2 separate regions of the Homo sapiens genome follow, and region 1 is linked to region 2. Evidence: promoter capture Hi-C in 16 types of primary human blood cells and fetal thymus (Javierre and others, 2016). All regions are on one chromosome and are shown on one strand. Each heading gives the region's core, a stretch centred on a gene start or on the middle of the fragment in contact. The rest is flanking DNA. Distances are from core to core; before and after follow the strand shown.

Region 1 (7,650 bases), core at 776-3,275, 780 kb before region 2:
AGTAGAGCATATAGAGATGTAAATAATTTGTGGACACACCACAGACTGAAATAGCAAATTTAAAAGAAATTGTTGGAAGAATCAAGTGTTTGTGGAATGAGTCCTCCTAGTAAAGTTCCTGCTCTTGTGAATAATTAAGCCTCATGTATAATTACTATAGCAAAAGGAAGCCTAAGAAGTATTAGACTCTACTTGTATTTAAATTACATTTTACATAATTTATGTGTATGAAAAATGTTTTAAATGCTTATTTTCGTAAGCCATGAGATAGCTCCTTTATATTTTAAGAATTTCTGAATTAATTTGCTTGGATTTTATTAGTGCAAATGGCAGAGCTAGCAATTCCTTTTTCTGTGTTCCCATTCCATCCTATTCATCCCTCTTTTAGGAAACTCTGAACTCTGGATTGTCCTTGTTTACATACCTGCCTCCTGCATTGGACTATGTGTCTCTGAGTGTAGTATGACTAATTCATTTGTTTGTCAAGGACTCTCAATGCATTTGTTGAACAGCCTAATTAGTAATGTCTGCAACAATGACATTTTACTGTATTTAATAAAGCTCTGGGAAAGTAGGATACACATAAGACAGGTCTAGGTCTAAATTCTTTACAGAAACTTGGATTTTTAGTTCGGTTTGAAATTTGAAGATGTGAGTATATTTATCTCAGTTTCCCAAAGGACAAGCTAATTGGAATTATCATCCTCTTTCACTTGATTGGATCCCCAGAATGCCATTTACGCATGCAGCAGGATTTTATAACAGTTTTAAATTCTGTATATTTGATGAAGAGGTTTTATATTTTTGGATTCAAGCCTCTTTTTAAACTTCTACAATATGGTTTACAATAATTCCTTATATCCTGCTTTTGAAATACATATTACAACTTTTTAAGTTTGGAAGGCTATATTTCAAGGACTGAAGTTACAGTATACTCAAGTGATACACAAGCCTAGCACCCCACTTTCCACATAGTGTTCGATAAAGATTGATAAACTCGAAATCACAGACCTTTTAATTCTTAAGACAAATAGCAGCAGAAAGAAACATCTTTGGCTTATTTCTGGTAAGGTTTTTATGCTCTGTAAAACAAAGAATTGTATTCATCCGCGCAGCACAGATTCTATTAAAAATAAATGTGAGAGTCGTTAATGTAGTACTGCTCATTTACCATCAAAATTCACTTTTCAGGAATAATCCCATCAGTTTAAATTGGATATTGGAATGAGCATTGATTACATTTAACTTGGTAGCCCAAAATTTCTTCATGGGGTTTTGAACTCGGCGGGATTTCAAAGGTTTTAAAAATGAGTTTTTGATTTTTTTTAAAACCCTCAAATTTCATTACCTTTAAACTAGGTCGAAACGGGGCGCAAGAGATTGGATTAACACCATAGTAATACTTATTTTGTTCTTAACCATTTCAGGGCTTCTTGAAATAGAGGCTGTATGGTGTAATGGAAAAAACAGCCTTGGAATCTGGGAGCCTGATTCCTGGATTCAGTCCCAGTTTTGCGTGACCTTGGGCAAGTTACTTTACTTCTCTGAATTTCCGTTTCCTCCTCTGCAAAATGAGGATCGCAATAGCCACCTTGCAACCTTGACTGGAGCGAGCCTCGCACACCCCGCGCCGGCCTGGAGGAAGAGCAGCCATGATTACGCCGCCTTCGCTCCGCTACCCGCTTGCGGCTGGCGCCCTCCTCCAGCAGGTGTAGGCGCTGCCGCGCTGCCCCACGCCTTTCCGCCGCTCGCGGGCCTGCGCCTCGGCGTCCCCGAGGAGGCCGCTGCGGGCTGAGGTAGCGCACCGGCCTCTCGGCGTCCCAGTCCGGTCCCGGGCGGAGGGAAAGCGGGCGACCCACCTCCGAGGCAGAAGCCGAGGCCCGGCCCCGCCGAGTGCGGAGGAGCGCAGGCAGCCCCCGCCCCTCGGCCCTCCCCCCGGCCCTCCCGGCCCTCCCTCCGCCCCCTCCGCCCTCGCGCGCCGCCCGCCCGGGTCGCCGCGGGGCCGTGGTGTACGTGCAGAGCGCGCAGAGCGAGTGGCGCCCGTATGCCCTGCGCTCCTCCACAGCCTGGGCCGGGCCGCCCGGGACGCTGAGGCGGCGGCGGCGGCCGAGGGGGCCGGTCTTGCGCTCCCCAGGCCCGCGCGCCTGAGCCCAGGTTGCCATTCGCCGCACAGGCCCTATTCTCTCAGCCCTCGGCGGCGATGAGGCGCTGAGGCGGCTGCCGGCGCTGCGCCGGAGCTTAGGACTCGGAAGCGGCCGGGCCGAGGGCGTGGGGTGCCGGCCTCCCTGAGGCGAGGGTAGCGGGTGCATGGCGCAGTAACGGCCCCTATCTCTCTCCCCGCTCCCCAGCCTCGGGCGAGGCCGTCCGGCCGCTACCCCTCCTGCTCGGCCGCCGCAGTCGCCGTCGCCGCCGCCGCCGCCGCCATGGCCAATGACAGCGGCGGGCCCGGCGGGCCGAGCCCGAGCGAGCGAGACCGGCAGTACTGCGAGCTGTGCGGGAAGATGGAGAACCTGCTGCGCTGCAGCCGCTGCCGCAGCTCCTTCTACTGCTGCAAGGAGCACCAGCGTCAGGACTGGAAGAAGCACAAGCTCGTGTGCCAGGGCAGCGAGGGCGCCCTCGGCCACGGAGTGGGCCCACACCAGCATTCCGGCCCCGCGCCGCCGGCTGCAGTGCCGCCGCCCAGGGCCGGGGCCCGGGAGCCCAGGAAGGCAGCGGCGCGCCGGGACAACGCCTCCGGGGACGCGGCCAAGGGAAAAGTAAAGGCCAAGCCCCCGGCCGACCCAGCGGCGGCCGCGTCGCCGTGTCGTGCGGCCGCCGGCGGCCAGGGCTCGGCGGTGGCTGCCGAAGCCGAGCCCGGCAAGGAGGAGCCGCCGGCCCGCTCATCGCTGTTCCAGGAGAAGGCGAACCTGTACCCCCCAAGCAACACGCCCGGGGATGCGCTGAGCCCCGGCGGCGGCCTGCGGCCCAACGGGCAGACGAAGCCCCTGCCGGCGCTGAAGCTGGCGCTCGAGTACATCGTGCCGTGCATGAACAAGCACGGCATCTGTGTGGTGGACGACTTCCTCGGCAAGGAGACCGGACAGCAGATCGGCGACGAGGTGCGCGCCCTGCACGACACCGGGAAGTTCACGGACGGGCAGCTGGTCAGCCAGAAGAGTGACTCGTCCAAGGACATCCGAGGCGATAAGATCACCTGGATCGAGGGCAAGGAGCCCGGCTGCGAAACCATTGGGCTGCTCATGAGCAGCATGGACGACCTGATACGCCACTGTAACGGGAAGCTGGGCAGCTACAAAATCAATGGCCGGACGAAAGTAAGTGTGTGCTGCGGGTTTGTGCTGGACAGGCCCTTCTCGGCGGGCAGCCCCTGCCTGCGACTGAAACTGCCTAGGCTGAGAAGCAGCATTCCTCTATATAGAAGGGACTCGCTCTTTCTTGTGTAGCTCCCCGTAAGGAAGACGGACAGAATTTGTAGTAGCTGTTTATCTAGTTAGCCCCTTTGTATCCACTGTTTTCCACTTACTGCCCGTTCACAAACTTCTCCGGCTAATTGCATGGTTTTTTGACTCAACGTAGGCGCTTTAACTTTCCTATTTTCTTTTTTCCATTCCACTATTGGTCACAATTCAAACCTTAGTGGCGTTTTAGCCACCCAGTGAAGGGGTGTTAGAGTACCACCCAAAGCAAGTCCTGGTTCTGCATCTGCCTTGTGTTTGCATAAGCTGTTAAATTTCCTATGGTGTCTGAACCACTCATCACATTTCGATTGAGAGTCAAACGCTGTGTTCAGTTAGGAATTTGCCGGCTGACCGCAAAAAGGTACATTTAAAATAAGCATTTAGTCGAAAGACTCTGTATTCAGGAAGAGCTTGGCTACTCCCCTCCCCCTGTTATAGCTCTTATCCCTCACCCTGTTCCTACTGTTTTGAAACCCGTTACAAAAAGGGGAAAGAAGTATTTCCGTCTTCAGGCCTCTCAGTGTAGGTAGGCTACATTTTTAGCACCAGTTTCCTTTATTTGCTTTGTTAATGTAATCCTTCTGTTGAAAACTGTTTTGTAACTTCCTGGAAAACAAAACAAAACAAAACAACAACACGGAATTGGCGCAGGAGGGCTCGTTTTATCCTCCCAATTTGGTGAGATCTTTTTGTTTTCTCTTTACTATTGCGGTTTTTCCTCCACAGATTTCTTCACTTCTTACCTAGTCTATTCCCTCTTTCCTCCCTCATGATAAACAGTAGACTCTTTCGTCCTTAACCAACTCTCTTGCAGCTCTTTTTCATTTTACTTCTCAGATCTTGATCTTTTCTTTGTGGCTGCTCCCAGGCCACCCTCCTCCACCATCAGTCTCTGATTTTGTGGGTTTTGAGAGATTGACCTGGGAGAGCATCACAGTTGCATGTTTGTACACACACGCTGACTCTAACTAGTGGTTTTTCTGTATGTGTGTGTCAGATCATCTACTTTGACAGTCATTACATGTGATTCTCAGGCTGCCCGAAAGACTGAACATAGGCAGTGAGAAAGTTATAAACGTGAACATTTTGTGGGGAAAAATACAATGTGGAGTCTAATTTACCTATTGCCACTTCATTGCTGGATGAAGGCACAAGTCTTAATTTCTTGTAGTCTTAAAAAGGAACAGTTGAATAATATTAAACTGGAAGGAAAAGGGGGATCTGATGAAATTTCAGCGTTGGTCTTTCACTAGATTTTCATTGATAAAATTTTTAAGAAAGTTGTCAGGGCACAACTTTAAGAAATTGTCACATCTGAACATAAAGTCCTGAGCTCCAGAGCAGGAAAGAAATTAGTTTGAGACAATAGGGCTGTGAAGACTGACCAAAGTATATAGTTGGGACATAAGCTTAAATTGGATTCTTGAAGAAGATGATGTCCCAAATCTTTCTTGATCTGCTTTCCTTAGTTAATTTAGCTTTCCAAGTTAAGCTGAGACCTCTTTTCTCTTTTGTCTTCCTGCTTTCACCTGTCCTTAGAGAAGGGACAGCAGACAGCCTGGCTCTTAGAGCAAATGCTTCTCATAGAGATGCTATTAGGAAATAGGTACCTCCTTCCTCAAGAGTTCTAGTTGTTGGGGTTTTAAGTCACGTAACTGTACATATTAGCAGGTAATAAGGGACAGGATGAAGGAGGGATGACCTTTAAACTCTTTGGATTTGATCTGCTTATATTAATTTTAGGGACGCAACTTCAGGATCTATAAATGATATTCAGGAATTCCTTTCATTGTACTTCTTGGCTGAAAGAGGTTTTGGTAATCGTGTTTGAACATGTAATTTATTCCTAAAAAACAAGGGTGTTTGCTTTGTGGAAATGAGAAGGCAATCAAAATAACCACCCACCGTATATTGAGCAACCAACCACAGTGTGTTAGGCATCATATTAGGATCAATACAGATACAATCAGAGTATTTTTTTTTTTTTTTTTGGAGACAGGGTCTTGCTTTGTTGCCCTGGCTGGAGTACAAGGGTGTAAGCATGGCCCACTGCAGCTTCCACCTCCTGGACTCAAGCTATCCTGCCATCTCAGCTTCCGAGTAGCTGGGACTGTAGGCACACACCACCATACTTGGCCAAATGAAAAAAAATTTTTTTTGTAGAGTCAGGGTCTTGCTGATCATTTGATCTCGAACTCCTCGGCTCAGGGGATCCTCCTGCCTTGTCCTCCCAAAGTACTGTGGTTACAGACTTGAACCACCTCACCTGGCCACAATAATCTTAATTCTGTGAAGTGAGTAGTGTTATTCCTAATTTACATTTGAGGGATTTTCAGCTCAGACTTGGCAGAGGTCTACCACTTACTATAACCCTGGCTGGTGTTCAAACTTAAGTCATTCAGATATCAAACCCATGCTCTTTTTTAACTACGCTAGTTATAGGTAGAACATTAAATGAGATGTAGATTATTTAGCACACTGCTGGAACTGCAATTTGATACATATATTTTGTTGAAAGTGGGTGAATAGCACTAGCTTTATATGTGAGTAATCATACTCTATGGTTGGGCTGTGTAAAACTTTTTATTAGGTGACTGTACAATGTTTATTTCAGATAGTGGCTTAAAAGCCACTTTTGTATTTATCCACCTGAATTATGCGCCTGTCAGTATACTGTTAACAGATGTCAGAATATGGTTTTTTTATGTGATTGCAGAGGGAGACTTCAATTCAGAATTTTATCCTTCATAACATTATAGTGATTTTAAAAGTTATATGCAGCAAATGTGTAGTATTTTTCTCATTTCAACTTTCACAGCAGTAGGCAGGTGGTTGTATCCCTTTTTTTATAGATTAGAAAAGTGGGACTCAGGAAAAGTTAGTTCACTTGTTGGAAATTCTGCAGCATATTAGGACTTAAATTCAGGTTTTCTGACTAAGAATCTGATGTTCTTTTTTATTTACATCATGTATATTGCATGCTCTTTATGTCAGGGCATGGTAATCAGATGATACATGATAGTCTGTGGCCCATTCAGTGTAGGCTTTGTTTTCCCCTGAATTTCTACTTCAAACATGCTTATCTGGCCGCTGTTTATGCAACTACTTTAAAAAAGGAACCATAAGGGAAAAATGAAGTCATACAGGAGAAAAACAGAAATGTAATTGTAGCCACTGATACAACCAAGCTCCTGTTTCCACTTTCTCTGGTCTTTTTGGGATTTTCTCCTTTTTGCCGTTACCCTGCCCTTTGATCCTATGTCCTTGCTTATGCTTGTTTTCATCAAGAAGAGTCTCAATGATATGCAGTAGAAAGAAACCATGGTCTGCTGTTTTGTGAAGAGTAGTGTGCCTTGACTTGGGGGTACAGGAGGAAGAGGAATGCAGAGGAGTGAGGATCATGGGAAAATGTTGAACTTTTCTGTTGGAGTTTCTTCGCCACTATGAAGGAAAACATTTTCCCATTAAAATAGAAATACTAGAATCATATACATAACATTTTTGGAATTTAATCCAAAACTTCATCTGTTCCGTTAAAACATACATAAAGAAAAGGAGTAATAAAATAGGTTGGGACTAATAAGCAGCAGATTATATTACTAAGATTTTTCACTATTACTGTAGTTAATTAGTTAGGTCTGGCTGATTATGGCTTTTAGAGCAAAGAATAGGATGAGGAAAATGCAGCTGTTTTATTATCACTAACAGAGATGTGGTGAACAATCCTCTTAGATGTTAAAAACGAAACTGACCCAGGAAGAGAGCCCTCATCAGTACCAGACCATGCTGGCATCCTGATCTCAGACTTTCAGCTTGTAGAACTGTGAGAAAATAAACTTATGTTATTTAAACCTAAATACATAAGTACACCTTTATCTCCTTTTTCCATTCTCTTTGTATGCTTGGGATCCAGGATACACAAATTGAAGTTACTTGTTTAATGATTTTATAACTATGTCAGAATTTAAGTTAAAAGTGAGTTACTCTGTATGTAGAAAGGCTGAAAATAGTACAACTGCAGTAATTCTGTCAGCTATAAGGGACGTGTGGACTGAGAGGGTAGTCTTAATAGATTGTGATCAACTATATGTGAAAACATTTTGTGTAGTGAGTTGATGTGTAGTTTACATGTAAACTAACTCCTTTAGTTCGAAAGGAATTTTATTTTACGTTAAAAGATTATTTTAGGCTG
Region 2 (7,769 bases), core at 5,144-7,643:
GGACAGGCAGAGCACAAGGGATTTGTAAAGCAGTGAAACTGTTCTGTATGATACTGTAATAGTGGATACATGACACTATGTACTTATTAAAACCCATTGAATGTAGAACACAAAGAATGAACTCTAATAAAAACTATGGCACTTCAGTTAAAAATAATGCCTCAATATTGGTTCATCAATTGTAACAAAGGTACCATACTAATTCAAGATGTTACTAGGAGAAACTGTGAAGGGGGAGGCAGGAGGGGATAGATGGGACCTCTGTGCTTTCTGCTCAATTCTTCTATAAAACTAAAACTGCTCCAAAGAAGTCTATTAATTAAAAAATACTAAGGTAGATAAACTTTTTTTTCCTGAATGGAATAGCACCCACTTTTTGAAAATAAGCTGTTTTAGTTAAAAAGCAATATTTTTAAAAGTAGACTTTTTTCTTGTTAAAATATATATGCCTGTGTCTGAAAAGCTGGAAGAAGTCAAGAATTATGGCCTGAAAGCCCAGAAATTAAAAGAAAAATCATTTCTCTTTATACTCAGAGATATTTCTGACTTAAACCCAGGTAAAGTACAAATGCCCCAAACAGCTGGAAGTTGACTAACAAATCAAATACAGGATAATAAGACAGCAAAACAAACCAGCTGTGGAAAACTTAAGAACCATTAACTAGAATAGCAGTGACAATCAATTTTAAAACCAAATAAAGTTTAAGAGTTTAGCTGCTTTAATAACTAGTTGCACCCAAGGATGGCAAACAATGACTAACACAAGAGAACTGGGGAAGTAATCATTTAAAGCTCGCCTGAGACCCAAATATCAATATCCTTAACACTGAGAAAATTTCACAGAACTTTTAACAGAAGAGCAAAATTCTCCAAGCTGCCCCATGCTGAACGTCAAAAAGTAAAATGTTCCCCAAATATAGAAAACTATCAAATCATCGGCTACTGCAGCAGGGACAGAACCCAAATCCCCCAGACATCATCATTCTGTATTCATAATGATGGGAGGTACTACCAAGAGGCAACACCAAGCTGAAGACATGATCTCTGCACTCAAAACATGTTCAGTCTCATTGAGATAAACACCAATACAAAATATTATGTGCTAAACTGTGGACTAAATAAACTATAGGTGGAAAGTCATAAAAGATTAGTATAAGCTCCTGTATGTCTGTGTGTTTCAAACCATTCTTTAAGACAAAGGGCCAACAGATAAGAATAAATGCCCCTGCATATTCGATAAACATTAAATATTCACTACGTGCAGAAAAATGAAACTGGACCCCTATTTCTCACCATATATAAAAATTAAGTCAAGATGGATTAAAAACTTAAATGTGTAAGACCTGAAACTATAAAAATCCTAGAAGAAAACCTAGGAAAAATTCTTCTGGACATTGGCCTAGGCAAAGGATTTATGACTAAGACCTCAAAGCAGATGCAACAAAAACAAAAATAGACAAATGAGACTTCGTTAAACCAAAAAGCTCTGCAGAGCAAAAGAAATAGCAGTGTAAACAGGCAATCTACAGAATGGGAGAAAACATTTGGAAATCATACATGCAACAAAAGACTAATATCCGGAGTCTACAAGGAACTTAAATCAACAAGAAAAAAACAAGTAACCCCATTAAAAAGTGGGCAAAAGACATGAACAGACATTTCTCAAAAGAAGACATACAAGCATCCAACAAACATATGAAAAAATGTCCAACATAACTAATCATCAGAGAAATGCAAATTAAAATTACAATGAGATACCATCTAACACCAATCAGAACAGCTTTTATTAAAAAGTCAAAAAACAACACTGGATGTGAGAAAAAGGAATGCTTATACACTGTTGGTGAGAATGTAAATTAGTACAGGTTCTATGGAAAACAGTATGGCGACTTCTCAAAGAACTAAAAATAGAACTACCATTTGACCTAGTAATCCTAATAGGGAACATCCACCCAAAGGAAATCATTATATAAAAAAAGACACCTGCACTCCTATGTTTATTGAAGCCCTATTCACAATAGCAAAGTCATGGAATCAACGTGTCTATCAACGGAGGATTGGATAAAGAAAATGTGGTGCATTTATACCACAGAATACTATGCAGCCTTAAAAAGATGAAATCATGTCTTTTGCAGCAACATGGATGGAGCTGGAGGTCATTATCCTAAATGAACTAACTCCGAAACAGAAAGTCAAATACCACATCATCTCCCTTCTAAGTGGGACATAAATGATGGGTATATGTGGACATAAAGATGGAATTAATAGACACTGGGGACTTGAAAGGGGAAGTGCTGGAGGAAGATGAGGGCTGAAAAATTATCTATTGGGTACAACATTCACTGTCTGGGTGATGAACACACTAGAAGCACAAACCTCACCATTACACACTATAACCACATAATAAACCTGTACATGTACCTCCTGAATCTAAAATAAAATAAAATAAATAAGTAACAAAAGAAAAACCACAATGAGATACCCAATAAATAAATAAATAATCACTGCTGTAATTACAGGGGGCACAGCAATGAAAAGCAAAGACAACATTCCTGTTCTCAAGGAGCATATATTCTAATGGGGAAATGAGAAAATAAACATGTAAACAAACATTATGAATAGTGGTAAGTGCTACAAAGAAAATAAAATGGAACCCTATGAAAGCGAGTGATGAAAAGGGGATAGAAGACCCTTACAAAGTGGTATCTGAGCTGAGATCTGAATGTCATGAAGGCAACAGCCATGGGAAAGACTGTGGGAAGGGAACCCTTCCTCACAACAGCAAGCTATGGGCAAAAACGTCCCTGGAGCTCTTCCCTCCAGCCCCTGCCCTCAAACCTAGTGCTGTCCCCAGTGCAGGGTGGCTCCATTGACACATGACCCAGTTAGTCTGGAACTCGTGTCTTCCAAGGCTCATTCTAAACCTTTATTTGGTTACCAAATTACTGAAGCCTGAGAAATTAAAAATGTATGCTAAAGTGTTTTCCAGCATCTATGGACAGATGATATTAGAAGTTTTATGAAACAGTAGCACTTAAGTTCTAAATAACTTATTATGTTTAAATGGATTAATCAATTTTATGTCTAAATCCTCTGTTCAATACCGTATCTGTGTTTGATGTATTTACGAGAAGGCAAAGAAAACCTATAACCTGTCACTTCCATTTAACAAATATTTGTGCTCTGTCCCAGCTGATTTCTTCTCTTTCTCTCTCCTTTTTACCCCAGTTTAACACTAATGACAATCTATGTGGTCTTCTAGCTTACTTTCTCAACTTAATTTCTTGAGCTCTTAAGCAGAATGATCTCATTCTGAAGTGCTTACTGCTGTGGGTGTATTAGGGACACCTGAGAAAGCCCAAGCCCCATTTTGTGATTAATTTGGTTAGTTAAATCCTCAAAGAAATTTGATGTTAAATGCTGTATGACTGAACAACAAAGATCTATTTACATGATGCTTATCTAACTTTGAACAAAGAAATATCCCAAGTAATAAAAACTCAAGGGACCATGAGTTCAACATTTTATTCAAGTAATACATTTTATAATATTGCAAGAAGTGACTTGGAAAATTTTTGCATACCAAAGAACTTCTTTTTACCAAAGGCCAACTGAATAAACTGTGTATGTCCAATGGTACTGATCTCATACCATCAAGAAAAGTATTTCACATTAGGAAATCGCTCCACATGTGGGTAATTAGAAAATTCTGTGACAATCAGTCTCAAATATATTCTTTATTTGTGTTGCAAACTGAAGCTAAAGAGAATTCAAGCTTTTCATGAAGACCAAAAATGAAACCATGAACCTGTAAGGTCAGCATTTTAGTTGCTGTGAAATGATGGCACATGCTGTGCCCGGCACTCAGCAACACTGGGCTGTTGCCTTCACACTTACATCCGCTTTCCTGTATCTCATCTACAGGCCAAGAGTCCAGATCACTAGATGGGTTACAATTTGTTTTAAATTAAGTGATGGCCCTCAATCTTGTCCCTACTGATAAAATGCATGTGCTTTAGCATAGGGACTATGTGACATTTTTGGGCTGTTCTCAGTATTCAAAATCACACATTCCAAAGTTTCTACCATCTAGAAAGGAAAGCATGACACGATTATTTTTCCAGTACTGAAGCCTGGGAGTCATGAGATAATGGCCCTGGGTTGCCCCAGTTAGCTGTGTGACTCTGGGGGAAGTCACAACATCTCTGGACCTCAGTTTCTTTATCTGCAAACTGGAAGAATCTACTACAGTTGTCCCTCTGTATCCGAGCATTCCACACCCTCTAATTCAATCAGTCATTAATTGAAAAGAGTCTTTAAAAAAATAATTAAAAAAATAAAAAGTAATGCAAATAAAAATACAGTATAACAACAATTTCACTGTATTAGGTAGTATAAGTAATCTAGAGGTGATTTAAAGTATTCCAGAGGATGTAAGTAGGTTATATGCAAATACTACACCATTTACAAGAGGGTCTTGAGCATTTGCAGATTTTGCTATCTGTGAAGGGGTGGGAGGTGTCCTGGAATCAATCCTCTGCGGATACTGAGGGGCAACTGTAAGTTTCTTTATTCACAGAAACATAAAACGACAAGAGCCAGAAACACTGCAAAGAGTATTGAGATAAGCATCACCCCATGACATAAATGAGGAAACTGAAGCCCGCAGAGGCCAGCGATTTGCACAAAATCACACGAGTGCTCAGCAGAGCTGAAACTGGGGCCCACATCTCCAGGTCACTGCTATTCAATCAGCCAGGCATTATTCTCTTGGACACACCTCCTGTTTCAATATTCCCTATTTACACACTTAGAATACAGATGAGCCTCAGAACTACAGTAAGGGGTCCCCTTATCTGAGGGAGATATATTCCAAGACCCCCAGTCAATGCCTGAAACCACAGATAGTACCCAACTCTATATACGCTATGTTTTTTCAATCAGATAACCAAGATAGCTACTAATCAATAGAAACTGTCCATCAGTGCAATAAGCTGCTCTGGAATACTTCCAAGTGTTCTGGAAAATGCTTTCTCATGTTTTCATGGTGTATACAGGTGGCAGTCTGATTACATACAAGCACCTGTTACATACAAGCACCGAGATGCGTTTTGAAAAGGGCACCCTGCCTGTGATGTAGAACACGGACTAGAAAAAGGCAAGAATGGATGCCAGGGGACTACAGTAAGAAGCCACTAGATTATAATGGCCAGAGATAATGATGAGTCAGAAAGTGGGAAAAGAGGAGATGGAGAGAAGTAGACAAATTTCAGAGATATTTGGGAAGTGAAATCCTAAGGCTTAGTAACAGGTTGGATTTCAAGAATGTGAAGGAGAGAGGTGTTATCAAGGATGACTCCTTGATAACATCTGACTCACAACCAGATGGATGGATTACCTCAGGTCTAGTATTACCTGAGATAGGTAATACCAGAAGAGAGCCAAGTTTGAGAGAAGGTTGGTTTTTTTCATCTTCCCCCAACAAATTCAGTTTTAAATATGCCGAGTTTGAGGTGCCACAGAGATAGCCAAGAAGAGATGTCAAGGCGCTGTGCACATGGGGTTGCAGATAAGAAGGTATTTGGGCCAGAAGTATGAACCTTTCACCTGTCTACACGTGGTCATTGAAGCTGCATGAAGTGGGTCACCTGCGGAAAGTGCACAGCATGTGAAAAGGAACAGACACGTGGCTGAGTCCATAACCCACCAATTAATGGCTAGGAGGAGAATGATTATGCAAAAGAGACAAGGAGACCAGAGAGGCCAAAAGATAACCAGAAAGCACCAGGTTTCAGAAAGCAAATGAAGGGAGCATTTGATCTACTGAGGTCAGGGAAGGAAGCAGAGAAGGTCTGGTGGATCGACTTCCATCTAGTTAACTTTGGTGAGAAGTCTTTAGTGGAATGATGGGGCCAGAAACCAGAGTGAAGTGAATTTAAGAGTGAAGGGAGAGAAAGTAAAGACAACATTTGGCTGTGAGCATTTGGCTGTGAGATGGAAGAGAGCGATGGGCTTTAACTGGAGGTTGGAGGGTCCAGTAGAAGAAACTAAAATAGGAGTGTGTCTGAAAGCCAATGGGAAGAAGTGTGGAGAGGGTGGGAATAACAGGGTCCTGAGAAGGGAGAGGGCACCGGATCCAGGCATGGGAGGCAGACCTCAGGAGGAAGGAAAGACCCCTACACCAGCGTCCCCAACTACCTGTGGGGAACCGGGTGGCCCAGCAGGAGGAGCGCAGCCTGTATTCACAGCCACTCTGTATTGGAGCTCCGCCTCCTGTCAGATCAGTGGCAGCACTAGATTCTCATAGGAGCATGGACCCTACTGTGAACTGCACATGCGAGGGATCTAGGTTAGGCACTCCTTATGAAAACCTAATGCTGAATGATCTGTCAGTGTCTCCCATCACCCCCCAGACAGGACTGTCTAGTTGCAAGAAAACAAGGTCAGAGCTCCCACTGATTCTACATTACGGTGAATTTTATAACTATTTCATTATGTATTACAATGTAATAATTATAGAAATAAAGTGTACAATAAATGTAATGCGCTTGAATCACCCCAAAACCATCCCCTGCACTCCTGGTCCATGGAAAAATTGTCTTCCAAAAGTGTCAAAAAGGTTGGGGACCATTGCCCTACACAACAGGTTAATGATGGGAGTGAGAACAGGTACAAATGCAAGAACGAGGTTGCTGTCAGCAAGATGAAGGAGCTACCGCTTGATGGCCTCTATTTTTTCTGTAAAACACATGAAGTCATACGTGAGACAGAAGGATATGATTGCCACAGCATACCTAGGTTAAGTGGGTTTAAGTTATCCCTGTTAGCCTACCACCTCTCTCCTACTACCAGTATCTTACATCCTAATTCATCTACTGATTGTCAACCCTCTCTAAGAGTGTTTGTACATTTTCTTTTTTTTTTTTTTTTTTTTTTTGACAGGGTCTCTTTCTGTTGCCCAGGCTGAAGTGCAGTGCTGCAATCCTGGCTCACTGCAGCCTTGACCTCCACAGGCTCAGGTAATCCTCCCACCTCAGCCTCCCAAGTAGCTGGGACTACAGGTATGTGCCACCACACCTGGCTAATTTTTCAATATTTTGTAGAAATGCATTCTCACTATGTTGCTCAGTGTGTATATTTTATTAAGCTGACGAAGTCAACAGTATCATGCCATTACCACCTTTGACCCCTCAAGTGATTCGTTCATCTGCCACTCCTGCTTTTTGATCATTTACGTAATATTTTCCACAAACTATCCCCTCCTGTATTTCTCAGATCTCATAAAAACCACTGAAATAACTTTTTAAGTAGCCTCCCGCCACCAGTCAGTTCCAACTGCAACATACATGATCATGTCATTTCCTGCTTTTAACCTGACTGTAACTCCACAATGAATACTAAATCAAGTGCAAATCCGTCAGTACAGTATACAAGGCCCATTGAAACCTGCACACAGCAGGTGATCATGGAATGCCCACTGACTGAACAATTGCTACCACTGCACTAGCATGCCCTCATGATCTATGGCAACCTAAACACAGTTTCCCATCAACACCAGAAGAGACGTAATACCAGAAGAGAGGTAATAACAGAAGAGAGTGGATTTCAAGCAACTTTAAATCTGGATTTTCAAGCAATCTCAAATCTCCCAATGCAAATGTCATATCCCAACTTTCTCACACGTACAAAACCTATCCAATTACAAAATGTGCTGAATGAGACACAAACATAGAAATATAGCCTGGACAAGTGTTCCAACCATCCTTTCT

Evidence for each region. The method cuts DNA at HindIII sites, captures the fragments that hold promoters and counts their contacts. A CHiCAGO score of 5 or more calls a contact.
Region 1: a contact is called between the fragment with the promoter of EGLN1 here and a fragment that was not itself captured in region 2, in 2 of 17 cell types (naive CD8 T cells and total B cells). The highest score is 5.6, in naive CD8 T cells.

What each region holds. Positions count from the first base shown.
Region 1 is chr1:231,416,662-231,424,311 of GRCh38, reverse strand. It overlaps EGLN1 (egl-9 family hypoxia inducible factor 1), which reads left to right and starts at 2,025. Exons shown (of 5, transcript NM_022051.3): 1 at 2,025-3,314. The coding sequence starts at 2,424. RefSeq lists silencers at 1,560-1,884, 1,640-2,819 and an enhancer at 3,200-3,469. The HindIII fragment of the contact is 5,790 bases long and covers 1-4,869 here.
Region 2 is chr1:230,644,402-230,652,170 of GRCh38, reverse strand. The region is part of intron 1 of COG2 (component of oligomeric golgi complex 2); the gene reads right to left. Among named protein-coding and RNA genes, the nearest start is that of COG2, 5.8 kb to the right of the region's middle. The HindIII fragment of the contact is 5,232 bases long and covers 3,778-7,769 here.